Linked DNA regions of Homo sapiens: region 2 is linked to region 1. Evidence: promoter capture Hi-C in human tissues and cell types (Jung and others, 2019). All regions are on one chromosome and are shown on one strand. Each heading gives the region's core, a stretch centred on a gene start or on the middle of the fragment in contact. The rest is flanking DNA. Distances are from core to core; before and after follow the strand shown. Region 1 has its middle 8.1 kb from the start of DIPK1B. Region 2 holds the start of CLIC3 (chloride intracellular channel 3).

Region 1 (6,000 bases), core at 248-2,747:
AGGTTTTCCTTGACTGGCTGAGGCAGTGAGTGCTGTGGACCCACCTCCACCTACCTCATCCCAAGAAACTCCACCTGGTGAGGCAGCCACTGGACGCTGTTGATGTTTTGCCTGCCTCTGTGGACAGGGAGGTATGAGAGTACCCCCGTCTAGTTGTCTAGTTCTAGAGACCCAAGGCTTCTGAGCTGCCAACCTGCAGGACATCATCTGTATCATGGCACCTGTGGACATCAGAAGTCCTAACCTGCCCACAGGTGGCCAGTGGCGGGGCGTGTACGGGGAACACACCTAAGTGTATTGGAGACCTGGCCATGTGAATGCAAGCTGGTCTTGCTCCTCCCCTGCCAGTGGTGTGGCAAAAAGGCATTGGCAGGATCCAAGACAGTGTACCAAGTACCCGGAGCCCACGTGATGGGCTCGGTATGGTCACAGTGTGTAGGACAGCTAGGGCTCTGGGAGCAATGGCTGACTTCTGTTGGTGGTAATCCACTGTCAGCCACCAGCAGCTCTTACCTGCTCCACTGGCCACTCAGGGATGTTGTGTTGCCATATTTCATCTCTTTTTTTTTTTTTTGACACGGAGTGTCACCCAGTGATTGTCACCCAGGCTGGAGTGCAGTGGCGTGATCTCGGCTCACTGCAGCCTCTGCCTCCTGGGTTCACATGATTCTCCTGCCTCAGCCTCGCGAGTAGCTGGAACTATAGGGGCCCGCCACTATGCCCAGCTAATTTTTGTAGTTTTAGTAGAGACTGGGTTTCTCCATGTTGGCCAGGCTGGTCTTGAACTCCTGACCTCAGATGATTCACCCGCCTCGGCTTCCCAAAGTGCTGGGATTAGAAGCTTGAGCCACCACGACCAGCCTTTATTTTTTTGAGGCAGACTCTCACCCTGTTGTCCAGGCTGGAGTGCAGTGGCACGATCTCGGCTCACTGCAACCTCCACCTCCCGGGTTCAAGTGATGGGTTCAAGGGATTCTTATGCCTCAGCCTCCCGAATAGCTGGGACTATAGGTGCCCGCCACCACACCTGGCTAATTTTTTTGTATTTTTAGTAGAGACGGGGTTTCACCATGTTGACCAGGCTGGTCTCTAACTCCTGGTGTCAAGTGATCTACCGGCCTCAGTCTCTCAAAGTGCTGGGATTACAGGCGTGAGCCACCACGCCCAGCCCCATATTTCATCTCTTAGTCCCCCTACTGCCCTTAATCCCTCAATCAAACCTCTGATGCGCCTTTTTCCCTCTGGGATTCTGTACCGCTTCTGGGATTCTGTACCCGCCCTGAAAGCGGGTTGCAGAGAGATTCACACATCCCACTGGCCCTTCTCTGCATTCAGTGCTTGCCAATAGGGAGAGTCCCCTCTGGCACGTACAGGATGGAAGTATGGGGATGAAACACAGCTCCTACGCGGCAACACACACATAGAAGCATCAAAAACAGGGCATCGAATTGGCCCAAAATGCCACACCCACAAGATCACATCAGCCTTCACTCCCCATTTCAAACCGTGCACAAATCCGGTGAGCGGAATCCAGAGAACTTTTCCTTCCACTGGTCCAAACAGGAGAGTGATGTGGGCTACTCATATCCGACAGAGCCATAAAGTTTGAGTTCTTCTTCTCCTCCAAGTTCTCCAGCACACTTGGATGGTGCCCACGGCCTGGGAACCTCTAATCATCTTTCTTCCTAACGTAAGTGGAGGGGGGTGAGAGGTGGAAGGAGGAAGTCCATGAACAAGGTTCTGCGTTTATTTTCAGGCAGCGTGGCAACGGCTCATGACTCAGCCAGGGACTGTTCCATGATTTTCAATCCATCCAATGCTCCGTACCAGGCAGTGAGCTTCTCACAGCTGACCCATCTACTTCAGTTTTGGGAGCCCCATGGCTTAGTAGCCATTGCCATGTTGTTTTCAGCTGGATCTGTGGAGTTTGCACCATTTGGCCAACTCGAGCTTGGTGTCCCAGTGGCAATCTTATTTGAGGATTCTTCCTACTTTAGACAAAATAGATGTAACAGAGTTGATTTGAGCATTAAAGGAGGCATGAATCAGGCAGCACTCAAAGGTGGAAGAGGCTCTGGGAGCTCTGTCTTAGCAGTGTGAGCAGCAGGCTTTTACAGGCTGAATGTGGAAGTGAAGTACGGAAATAACTCAAGGCCAGGCTAGGCACCGTGGCTCACACCTGTAATCCCAGCAGTTTGGGAGGCCGAGGCAGGCAGATCACATGAGGTCAGGAGTTCAAGACCAGCCTGGCCAACATGGTGAAACCCCGTCTTTACTAAAAATACAAAAATTAGCTGGGCATGGTGGTGTGCACCTGTAATCCCAGCTAATCGGGAGGCTGAGGCAGGAGAATCGCTTGAACCCAGGAGGCGGAGGTTGCAGTGAGCCGAGATCACACCACTGCACTCCAGCCTGAGCAACAGAGCATGACTCTGTCTCAAAAAAAAAAAAAAAAAAGAAAAAGAAAAAAAAAAGAAAAGAAATAACTCAAGACCTTTGCCTTATTTGGGTGTGGTCTGATTGGTTGGCTGCCCGTGATTGATTGGTTGAAACCTGGCTATCTGTTAACAAACTACTGAATAAAGTTGTTGTTGGTTAGTGGGAACTCCCAGTACAGAGACGGCCTCAGGCAATGACTGCTCCTTATTTTGCTTTAAACAACTTTAATCTAGCCGGGCAGGGCATGGTGGCTCACGCCTGTAATCCCAGCCTTTTGGGAGGCCGAGGCGGGCAGATCACCTGAGGTCAGGAGTTCCAGACCAGCCTGGCCACCATGGTGAAAGTCCTTCTCTACCAAAAATACAGAAATTAGCCACGCATGGTGGCAGGTGCATGTAGTCCCAGCTACTCGGGAGGCTGAGGCAGAAGAATCGCTTGAACCTGGGAAGCAGGGGTTGCAGTGAGTCAAGATCGTGTCACTGCACTCCAGCCTGGGTGACAAGAGCAAAACTCATCTCAAAATAAATAAATAGATAAATATAAATAAATAAAATTCAGTGGTGCCTCTTCCTCCTGCTCCAGCCACGTAGGACACACCTGTGTCCCCTTCACCTTCTGCCACGATGATGTTTCCTGAGGCCTCCCCAAAAGCAGAAGCCGCTATGCTTTCTGTACAGTCTGAGGAACTGTGGGCCAATTCAACCTCTTTTCTTTCTAAATTACCCAGTCTCAGGTATTTCTTTGTACCCATGTGAGAATGGACTAATATAGATGGTTTTGGGAGGTGGTGCCTTTGGGAGGTGACAAGGTCATAAGGGTGGAGTTCTCATGAATGAGATCAGGGCCTTTATAAAGGAGACCCCTGGCCGGGCACGGGGCCTCAAGCCTGTAATCCCAGCACTTTGGGAGGCCGAGGCAGGTGAATCACCTGAGGTCAGGAGTTCGAGATCGGCCTGGCCAACATGGTGAAACCCCGTCTCTACTAAAAATACAAAAATCAGCCTGGGGTGGTGGCGGGCACCTGTAATCCCAGCTACTCGGGAGGCTGGGGCAGGAGAGTCACTTGAACCCGGGAGGCGGAGGTTGCAGTGAGCCAAGATTGCGCCATTACACTCCAACCTGGGCAACAAGAGCGAAACTCCATCTCAAAAAAAAAAAAGAAGAGACCCCCACCCCGGCTGCCAGGAGACCCCTGACTGCATTCACCACGTGACGTCTATCAGGAGGCGGGCGCTCACCAGACACGGAATCTGCCTGCACCTCGATATTGGACTTTCTGGCCTCCATCACTGTGAGAAATGCATTTCCATTGTTTGTAAGCCACCTGGCTTGTGGTGTTTTGTCAAAGCTGACTAGGACAGTCACTTTCCCTTCACCAGGACTGCAAACCCCGTGTCTCAACTGTGGCTTCCTGTGAGTTTGTCTGTCAGCAAAACCTCCTGAAATGGGCCAGAGCCCCCCTTAGAGCAGCAGGACATGCCACAGACTTCAGAGACCTTTCACTGTGCCCCCAGGACAGATCTAGAGTTGGCTGGAAAGGTGCAGGAGCAGCTGGGCCATGCCTCCTTAATAACACTGGGGGCTCCACCCCCATCTGTCAAGGGAACCAAAGCTCCAAGGACTTCCTAGTTTCTGCCCTCGGTGGGAGTGCAGCTGCGGTCAGGAGACCTACACATCTGTGACTGTCAGAGCGGCAAGACCTTCTGCTCGCAGAGACACATCTTTTCTTTCTCTCTTTCTTTCTTTTGAGACAGAGTCTCGCTCTTGTCGCCCAGATTGGAGTGCTGTGGTGTGATCTCGGCTCACCGCAACCTCCGCCTCCCTGGTTCAAGCAATTCTCCTGCCTCAGCCTCCCGAGTAGCTGGGATTACAGGCATCTGCCACCAGGCCCAGCTAATTTTTTGTAGTTTTAGTAGAGATGGGATTTCACCTTGTTGGCCAGGCTGGTCTCGAACTCCTGACCTCAGGTGATCCACCCGCCTTGGCCTCCCAGAGTGCTGGGGTTACAGGCGTGAGCCACCGCGCCCGGCCCTCTAAATCATTTTTAAGCACACAGTCAGTGACATTAGGTATGTTCACATTGTTGTACAGCCCTCACTGCCATCTGGCTCCAGAACTTTTCCATCTTGTAAAACTATCTTGAACTATACAGGTGCAGTGGCTCACACCTGTAATCCCAGCACTTTGGGAGGCCGAGGCGGGCAGATCACCTGAGGTCAAGAGTTTGAGACCAGCCTGGCCAACATGGTGAAAACCCATCTCTACTAAAAATACAAATATTAGCTGGGTGTGGTGGTGGGCGCCTATAATCCCAGCTACTCGGGAGGCCGAGGCAGGAGAATCGCGGGAACCGGGGAGACGGAGGTTGCAGAGAGCCGAGATCGCGCCATTTTACTCCAGCCTGGGTGACAGAGTGAGACTCCATCTCAAAAAAAAAAAAAAAAAAAAAAAGGCAAAATTGATCTCACTCGAGGTCTTTAACCTAATTACAGCTGTAAAGACCCCATTTCCACAGAAAGTTACATTTACACATTCCAGGGGGACTTATCTTTTGGGGGGCACCATTTAACCCACTGCAGTATCAAAATCAAGGTGCAGGGCAGCACGTGCAGTGTGGTACCATTTTCATTTTTGTCATTTAGCTCTGTGTGTGTGTGTGCACATGGGTGTGTGCCCGCGTGCGTGTGTGTGTGTGTGTGTCAATCTCCCTGTGTTCCTTCCATGTATAGGTGATTGAACCTCTCTTGCTATTTTTTTTTTTTTTATCCGAGACAGAGTTTCACTTTTGTCACCCAGGCTGGAGTGCAGTGGCACGATCTCGGCTCACTGCAACCTCCACCTCCCAGGTTCAAGCAATTCTCCTGCCTCAGCCTCCTGAGTAGCTGGGACTACAGGCGCGCACCACCATGCCCGGCTAATTTTTTGTATTTTTAGTAGAGATGGAGTTTCACCATGTTGGCCAGGCTGGTCTCGAACCCCTGACCTCAGGTGGTCCACCCGCCTTGGCCTCCGAAAGTGCTGGGATTACAGACGTGAGCCACCATATCCAGCCCTCTCTTGCTATTTGCAAAGGTGTAAGTGGGGGGACTGAATCGTGTCCCCACTAAATTCCTTCCTGGAAGCCCTAACCTGCAAGGAGAGGGTATTGACGATGTAGCCTATGGGAGGTGCCTGGGGGTGGATGAGGTCATGAGGGTGGGCCTTAGTAGAAAGGGCACAGGTGCCCTCCCCTTATTCCTTATCCCACCCTCGCGTCAGGACGCAGCAAGAAGGCACTAGAGAAGGGAGGCAGGGCTGAGAACGGGGAAAAGGGCTGGATCCTTAGAGAGGCCAGGGCTGGGAACCTCAGGCGGGTTCCCAGGATCTGCCAGGAAGAGGACCCTCACCAGAGCCGGACCACGGGGCGCCCCCACCCCCAGCCTCCAGACCCGTGGGGAGGAAACGTCTGCTTTGTGAGGATGTCCTGGCCGGCGGAGACAAACCTGAATCCTGCGGGCGCTGGGGCCCCCGGATCCTCCACAGCTGCTCAAAATGAGGGTGACGCAGAGAGACACCACAATA
Region 2 (6,213 bases), core at 3,307-5,806, 290 kb before region 1:
GACCAGAATCTGAGCTCTGGTCTGCACACTGCTCCCGAGGTCTCGCTGCCCCCGAGGTCCCGCCGCCCCCGAGGTCCCGCCGCCCCCGAGGTCTCGCCGCCCCCGAGGTCACGCCGCCCCCGATGTCTCGCCGCCCCCGAGGTCTCACCGCTCCCGAGGTCTCACTGCTTCTAGGCTCTCTCCATGCACAGAGCAGATAAATCTCTGCACAAGTTTGCACCAATACCCCAATGCCCCCAGCCCTCCGGCCCCCCAAACAGGTGTGTGTCTCCCTTCAGAACAGAGCTGCTCAAATGTCACTGGGGTGTGGCCCTGTGCAGGCGGAGGCAGGAGGATCACTGGAGCCCAGGAGGTGGAGGCTGCAGTGAGCTATGACTGCGCCATTGCACTCCAGCCTGGGTGACAGAGTGAAACCCTGTCTCAAAAAAAAAAAAAAAAAAAAAAAAAAAGAGCCCCTTGGAAGGGGCCTACAGGGAGGGGTGTTGGGGAGGGAGAGAGTTCTAACCCACCAGTCAGTCAGTCCCAGAGCAGCAGCCTCGGGACCTCAGCTTGGGCCCCTCTAACGCTGGCTCTATGAATCAGGAGCAGGGGCTGCAGGGGACGGGAGGTTTAGGGATAACCCCGTGGCCTCGGGGACCAGGGTCTAGTTAAGGTTAGTGGCTGTGATACTGTTCTTACTTCAAAACATTATGAAATTGTGGTAGAAAATGTGGTATTACAAAAATGTGGTAGAAAATGCAAACAGTGTGGACAGACAGGAAGCAAAACTGAAAGCCTGTTTCTGCCTGTCAGGGGTCATCCCACAGACAGCTCCTTGCGTCTTTTTTCAGCTCTGTTCAAGTAGAGACTCAGAATGACAGATCCTAATGCTGATTTTCTTCCATTTCCTGGCTTCTCCCTGCTTTACTTATTAGCTTGCTGGCGCTGCCATGCAAAGGACCACAAAGTGAGGGGTTTAAAACAACAGAAACTGACTTTGGGAGGCCGAGGTGGGCGGATCACTTGAGGTCAGGAGTTTGAGACCAGCCTGACCAACATGGTGAAACCCCGTCTCTACTAAAAATACAAAAATTAGCCAGGCGTGGTGGTGGGCGCCTGTAATCCCAGCTACTCGGGAGGCTGGGGCAGGAGAATCGCTTCAGCCGGTGAGGCGCGGGTTGCAATGAGCCGAGATTGAGCCATTGCACTCCAGCCTGGGTGACAGTGAGACTCCATCTTAAAACAACAACACCGCGGGGCGCGGGAGCTCACGCCTGTAATCCCAGCACTTTGGGAGGCCGAGGCGAGCGGATCACGAGGTCAGGAGATCGAGACCATCCTGGCTAACGCAGTGAAACCCCGTCTCTACTAAAAATACAAAAATTAGCCAGGTGTGGTAGCGGGCGCCTGTAGTCCCAGCTACTTGGGAGGCTGAGACAGGAGAATGGCGTGAACCTGGGGAGGCAGAACTTGCAGTGAGCCGAGATTGTGCCACTGCACTCCAGCCTGGGCGACAGAGCAAGACTGCATCTCATTAAAAAAAAAAAACAAAAAAAACAGAAGCTCACTGCCTAGCAGTCTGGAGGTCAGACATAGCACCTAGGCTTGGGCAGGGCTGCTTCCTCCCAAGGGCCTTGGAGAGCATCCGCTTGGCTCCCAGGCTTACAGATGTGCCACCCTGATTTCTGCCTGCGGCCCTCCCTGTGCATCTGTGTCCAAACTCGCCTTTCTATACTGACATCAGTCATATTGGATCAGGGCACATCCTACTCACCACATTTTAACTTGATAACTTCTATAAAGACCCTATTTCAGCCGGGTGCGGTGGCTCACACCTGTATTCCCAGCATTTTGGGAGGCCAAGGTGGGTAGATCTTCTGAGGTCAGGAGTTCGAGACCAGCCTGATCAACATGGTGAAACCCTGTCTCTACTACAAATACAAGGAAAAAAAAAAAAAGCTCAGCGTGGTGACGTGTACCTGTAATCCCAGCTACTCCAGAGGCTGAGAAAGTAGAATTGCTTGAACCCAGGAGGCAGAAGTTGCAGTGAGCCGAGATTGCACCACTGCATTCCAGCCTGGGCAACAGAGCAAGACTCTGTCTCAAAAAAAATGTTAAAAAGCCCCTGTTTCCACATAAGGTCACATTCTTTATTTTTTTTCCAAGATGGAGTCTTGCTCTGTTGCCCAGGCTGGAATGCAGTGGCACTATCTCTGCTCACTGCAACTCTGTCTCCCGGGTTCAAGCACTTCTCCTGCCTCAGCTTCCCGAGTAGCTGGGATTACAGGTGCCTGCCACTATGCCTGGCTAATTTTTGTATTTTTAGTAGAGACGGGGTTTCACCATGTTGGTCAGGCTGGTCTCAAACTCCTGACCTCAGGTGATCCACCCCCCTCGGCCTCCCAGACTGCTGGGATTACAGGCATGAGTCACCGTGCCCGGCCCATATAAGGTCACATTCTGAGGCACTAGGGGTTAGGACTCCAGCCTAAGAATTTAAATTTAAGGGGACACAAGCCACGCCATTTACCTAATCTCAGGCCCTCCCTGCAGTGGGCATGCATGGAGTCACCTTTTCCGTCCTTCTCCCTGGACACAACTGGAGTCTCCCATAGACAGGGTGGTGGCCGTGCCACGGAGCCACGCCACGCCACGCCACGCCACGCAGTGGGGCAGCCAGCACTCACTTGCCCTTCACAGGGAAACCGGCCGGGTGTGGCAGCTCGCGCCTGTAGTTCCAGCACTGTGGGAGACCAAGGCAGGTGGGTCACTTGAGCCCATGAGGTGGAGACCAGCCTGGGCAACATGGCAGGACCCTGTTTCTAGTAAATAAATGAATTGATTAAACCATAAAAAAAAAAGGAAGCCACCGGGCTGATTCCCAGGTGGCGAGGGCACAGGGGGGTGTTGGATGGCCACTGCCGCTCCACAGTCCACAGCCCACGCCCACAGAACGCAGTGGGGCCGCTGCAGCGGTGAACCGAGTCTTGTTGGTTTGTTTCTTGAGACGGGCGTGAGGTGAATGGTCTTCCTGTGTCTTGTTTTCTTTTTCCTTCTGAGCCACCGGTTCACGGCCTCTGTCCGTGCCGTCATTTTTCCTGTGGGTTTGTGAGGGTGCGTCTGTCGGTGTTAAAGACACAGGATGCCGGGGCAGCAGAGGGGGCTGGGGGCCTGGGGCTTCTCTGTGGTTGGCCATTTGCCTGCCAGGGATGTGGGAAACCAGCAAGCGGAGCTATAACCACAGTGTCCAGAAAGAGCTGAAATACTAGGGCTTGGAATCGAGGTGGAGGCCGGATGGAGGGAAATTGAGGTTCAGGACACCAAAGGATGGGGCAGCCACATGGTATTTCCAAGGCTCTGTGTCCAGGAGCCCCGACTGGCGTGGTATCCAGAGAAGCATCAGGCTGGGCTGACTGGGGCAGCACTGGAGTGTGTTCCACCGGGGACGGATGAGGGGCCCGTACCAAGGCCCTGGGGAGAAGGTGAGCAGGAGAGCAGTGCCACCTCAGCTGCCCTGTCCAGGCTGGTGAGGCACCACACCGCCTGGGGGAGGTGTGGCCAGGCCAATCCTGTGGGCACCCCAGGTCTCTGGGTGGAATCTCCCCTCGGTGTACCTCCCTGGGGCTGCACCCTAAAGCGTCAGGGCCAGGTGGGAGGAAGGCACAGTTGGCGACCCCAAAGGGCCAGACTGAACTGTGGGTTCCAATCACGCCAGGAGGCTCAGCGCAGGCTCACACCTGTGGACCACCACCCTCCCCTGGCCTCTTTCTTCCAGCCACGCAGGCTGTGGCTTCTAACCCCTCTCCTGCTGCTTCTTTTTAAAGGTTAAGGGGTTGGGGGTAAGAAACCTGCGCTGAGCGCCAGTGGGAGGGATGGGAGGTGGGGTGGAGACCTGCACTGCCGGCCAAACACCAAAGCCAGGCTGGCCTCCCCGCCCTGTTGCGGGCAGGTCTGGAATTTGAGCCCTGCCCTGAGCGGGGAGGGCCCTGCCTGACTGCTCCGTAGCTGGGAAGGGGCGGCTCCCCCAGGTGGGCTTATCACCCTCCCGATGCCCTGGTGCTGCAGATGGGGAACTGAAGCCAGGCTGGGCAGGCCATTTCTCCTGCTCACCCACACCCACTGGCTTTCTGGGCTGGGAGCCCTGACAAGGGGTATTTGCGGAAGGGAGAGCCATAGGGCAGGGTCTGAGCTGGGTTCACGGTGGAGGTGGTCCTGACCCAGAGCCGCCCCCTTCCCAGGTGACACCCCCTGCACCCTTCTGGCCTGTAGGCTCTCCCTATGCCCTGCCCCCTGGTCTCCACCCACCACGCTGGCTCCCAGCACACTCAGTACCGGGTGGGCGGATCTCCGTGCACACCAGACTCAAGTCCAGGGCAGCCCCCCACACCATTCCGCCACCCTGAGGTCACACCCTCAGGCTCAGACACCCCGGGGCCGGGCTGGCGTTGCTCAGGCAGCTGGTTCTGCGCGCTGGGCAGCTTCATCTGCCCGCCTAGGTGGCTCCACGGGGCGGGCCCCTCGGCCAGGGAGGGCGGGGCGCACAGGGAGACTTAAAGAGCTCCCCAGGTCCCCACCCGCGCCTGACCGCGGCAGCTCCCACCATGGCGGAGACCAAGCTCCAGCTGTTTGTCAAGGTGCAGGGCGGACTCAGCTGCGGGGAGGGTGTCTGGGAGGAAGCGCTTTTCTGGGCTTTGCTTTCTGTGGCAGGCTGTGGGGTGGGCCTCCCAGTAATGTCTGAGCCCCTTCCTGTGGGTGGCTAGGGGGACTCAGGCAGCCCTACAGAGGCTGAGTAAAGTGGGACCCAGCGAGTCACCCAGAGAGGGGTCAGTGGCCCTGGTCCTGCTCCCAGCCTTGGCTCCTGGGCCCAGCCCAGTCTTCTGGAGGAGAGCTCCTTGGTGGGGAGGTACCAAGCAGGCTGCCAACAGTGGAGCTTACGGTCGGTGTTCCAGGATGGGGGGTGCTGGGCCAGGCAGCCCCATCAGCTCTCAGGTCGGGGACTGGGGTGGGGGACTGATGTGCTGTTGGCCACAGTGCCCAGTCTCATGTGTGAATCACTCAGAAAACAGCTTGTGAGGCCCACCCCACCCCTGCAACCAGCTTTTGGGGACTGAGCCCAGGGGCCTGGCCTCTGTCCAGGCTCTGACAAGATTCCAGGGGCCAAGCCTGCCCCAGGCCTCAAGGCTCCCAGCAGCTCTGCCCCCCTCCCCACGTTCTGGGGACCAAGTCAAGGGCCCTCACTGGGCACTTGGAAGTCGCGCCGACCAAGCTGGAGCCCTGGCGTCCCTCCAATCCCACTGGCAGTGGGAGGCGGGTCCCGCCCAGCCTGGCGGCAGGATGCCTGGGTCTGCTTCCAGCCCTGACCCCCCACCCCCGCTCCACCCACCCAGGCGAGTGAGGACGGGGAGAGCGTGGGTCACTGCCCCTCCTGCCAGCGGCTCTTCATGGTCCTGCTCCTCAAGGGCGTACCTTTCACCCTCACCACGGTGGACACGCGCAGGTGAGGCCCCATCCTGTGGACCCCCGCCTGGCCTCGCACACTGGTGGGCCGGCCTCCTCCCACCCCGCTGCTGCCCGCAGGTCCCCGGACGTGCTGAAGGACTTCGCCCCCGGCTCGCAGCTGCCCATCCTGCTCTATGACAGCGACGCCAAGACAGACACGCTGCAGATCGAGGACTTTCTGGAGGAGACGCTGGGGCCGCCCGAGTGAGAGCCCCGGCAGGGTGGGAGGGGAAAAGAGGGGGGCCCAGGGAGGACGCGCGCAAGACAGAGCCCAGGAAGGCGCTGTGGGGGTACTGTGGGGCCGGGACGGGGCTGCCCCCAGTCTAATGGAGTCCCACCCCCTCATCCCGCAGCTTCCCCAGCCTGGCGCCTCGTTACAGGGAGTCCAACACCGCCGGCAACGACGTTTTCCACAAGTTCTCCGCGTTCATCAAGAACCCGGTGCCCGCGCAGGACGAAGGTGAAGCGGGGTCAGGGGGTCGGGTGCCCAGGCGGGAGGGCGCCCTGGGCCTGGTCCTCACCGCGCCGCCTGCCCCCTAGCCCTGTACCAGCAGCTGCTGCGCGCCCTCGCCAGGCTGGACAGCTACCTGCGCGCGCCCCTGGAGCACGAGCTGGCGGGGGAGCCGCAGCTGCGCGAGTCCCGCCGCCGCTTCCTGGACGGCGACAGGCTCACGCTGGCCGACTGCAGCCTCCTGCCCAAGCTGCACATCGTCGACGTGAGCACGGAAGGTGGGC

The links. The method cuts DNA at HindIII sites, captures the fragments that hold promoters and counts their contacts. A contact is called where the count stands out against the background at its distance.
Region 2: the fragment with the promoter of CLIC3 here is called in contact with a fragment that was not itself captured in region 1 in 1 of the 25 tissues and cell types used here (dorsolateral prefrontal cortex).

What each region holds. Positions count from the first base shown.
Region 1 is chr9:136,701,510-136,707,509 of GRCh38, reverse strand. No RefSeq gene overlaps it. Among named protein-coding and RNA genes, the nearest start is that of DIPK1B, 8.1 kb to the left of the region's middle. The HindIII fragment of the contact is 6,599 bases long and covers 1-4,796 here.
Region 2 is chr9:136,994,911-137,001,123 of GRCh38, reverse strand. It overlaps CLIC3 (chloride intracellular channel 3), which reads left to right and starts at 4,556. Exons shown (of 6, transcript NM_004669.3): 1 at 4,556-4,613; 2 at 5,367-5,476; 3 at 5,557-5,682; 4 at 5,832-5,938; 5 at 6,019-6,194. The coding sequence starts at 4,581. RefSeq lists an enhancer at 839-958. The HindIII fragment of the contact is 25,713 bases long and covers 1-6,213 here.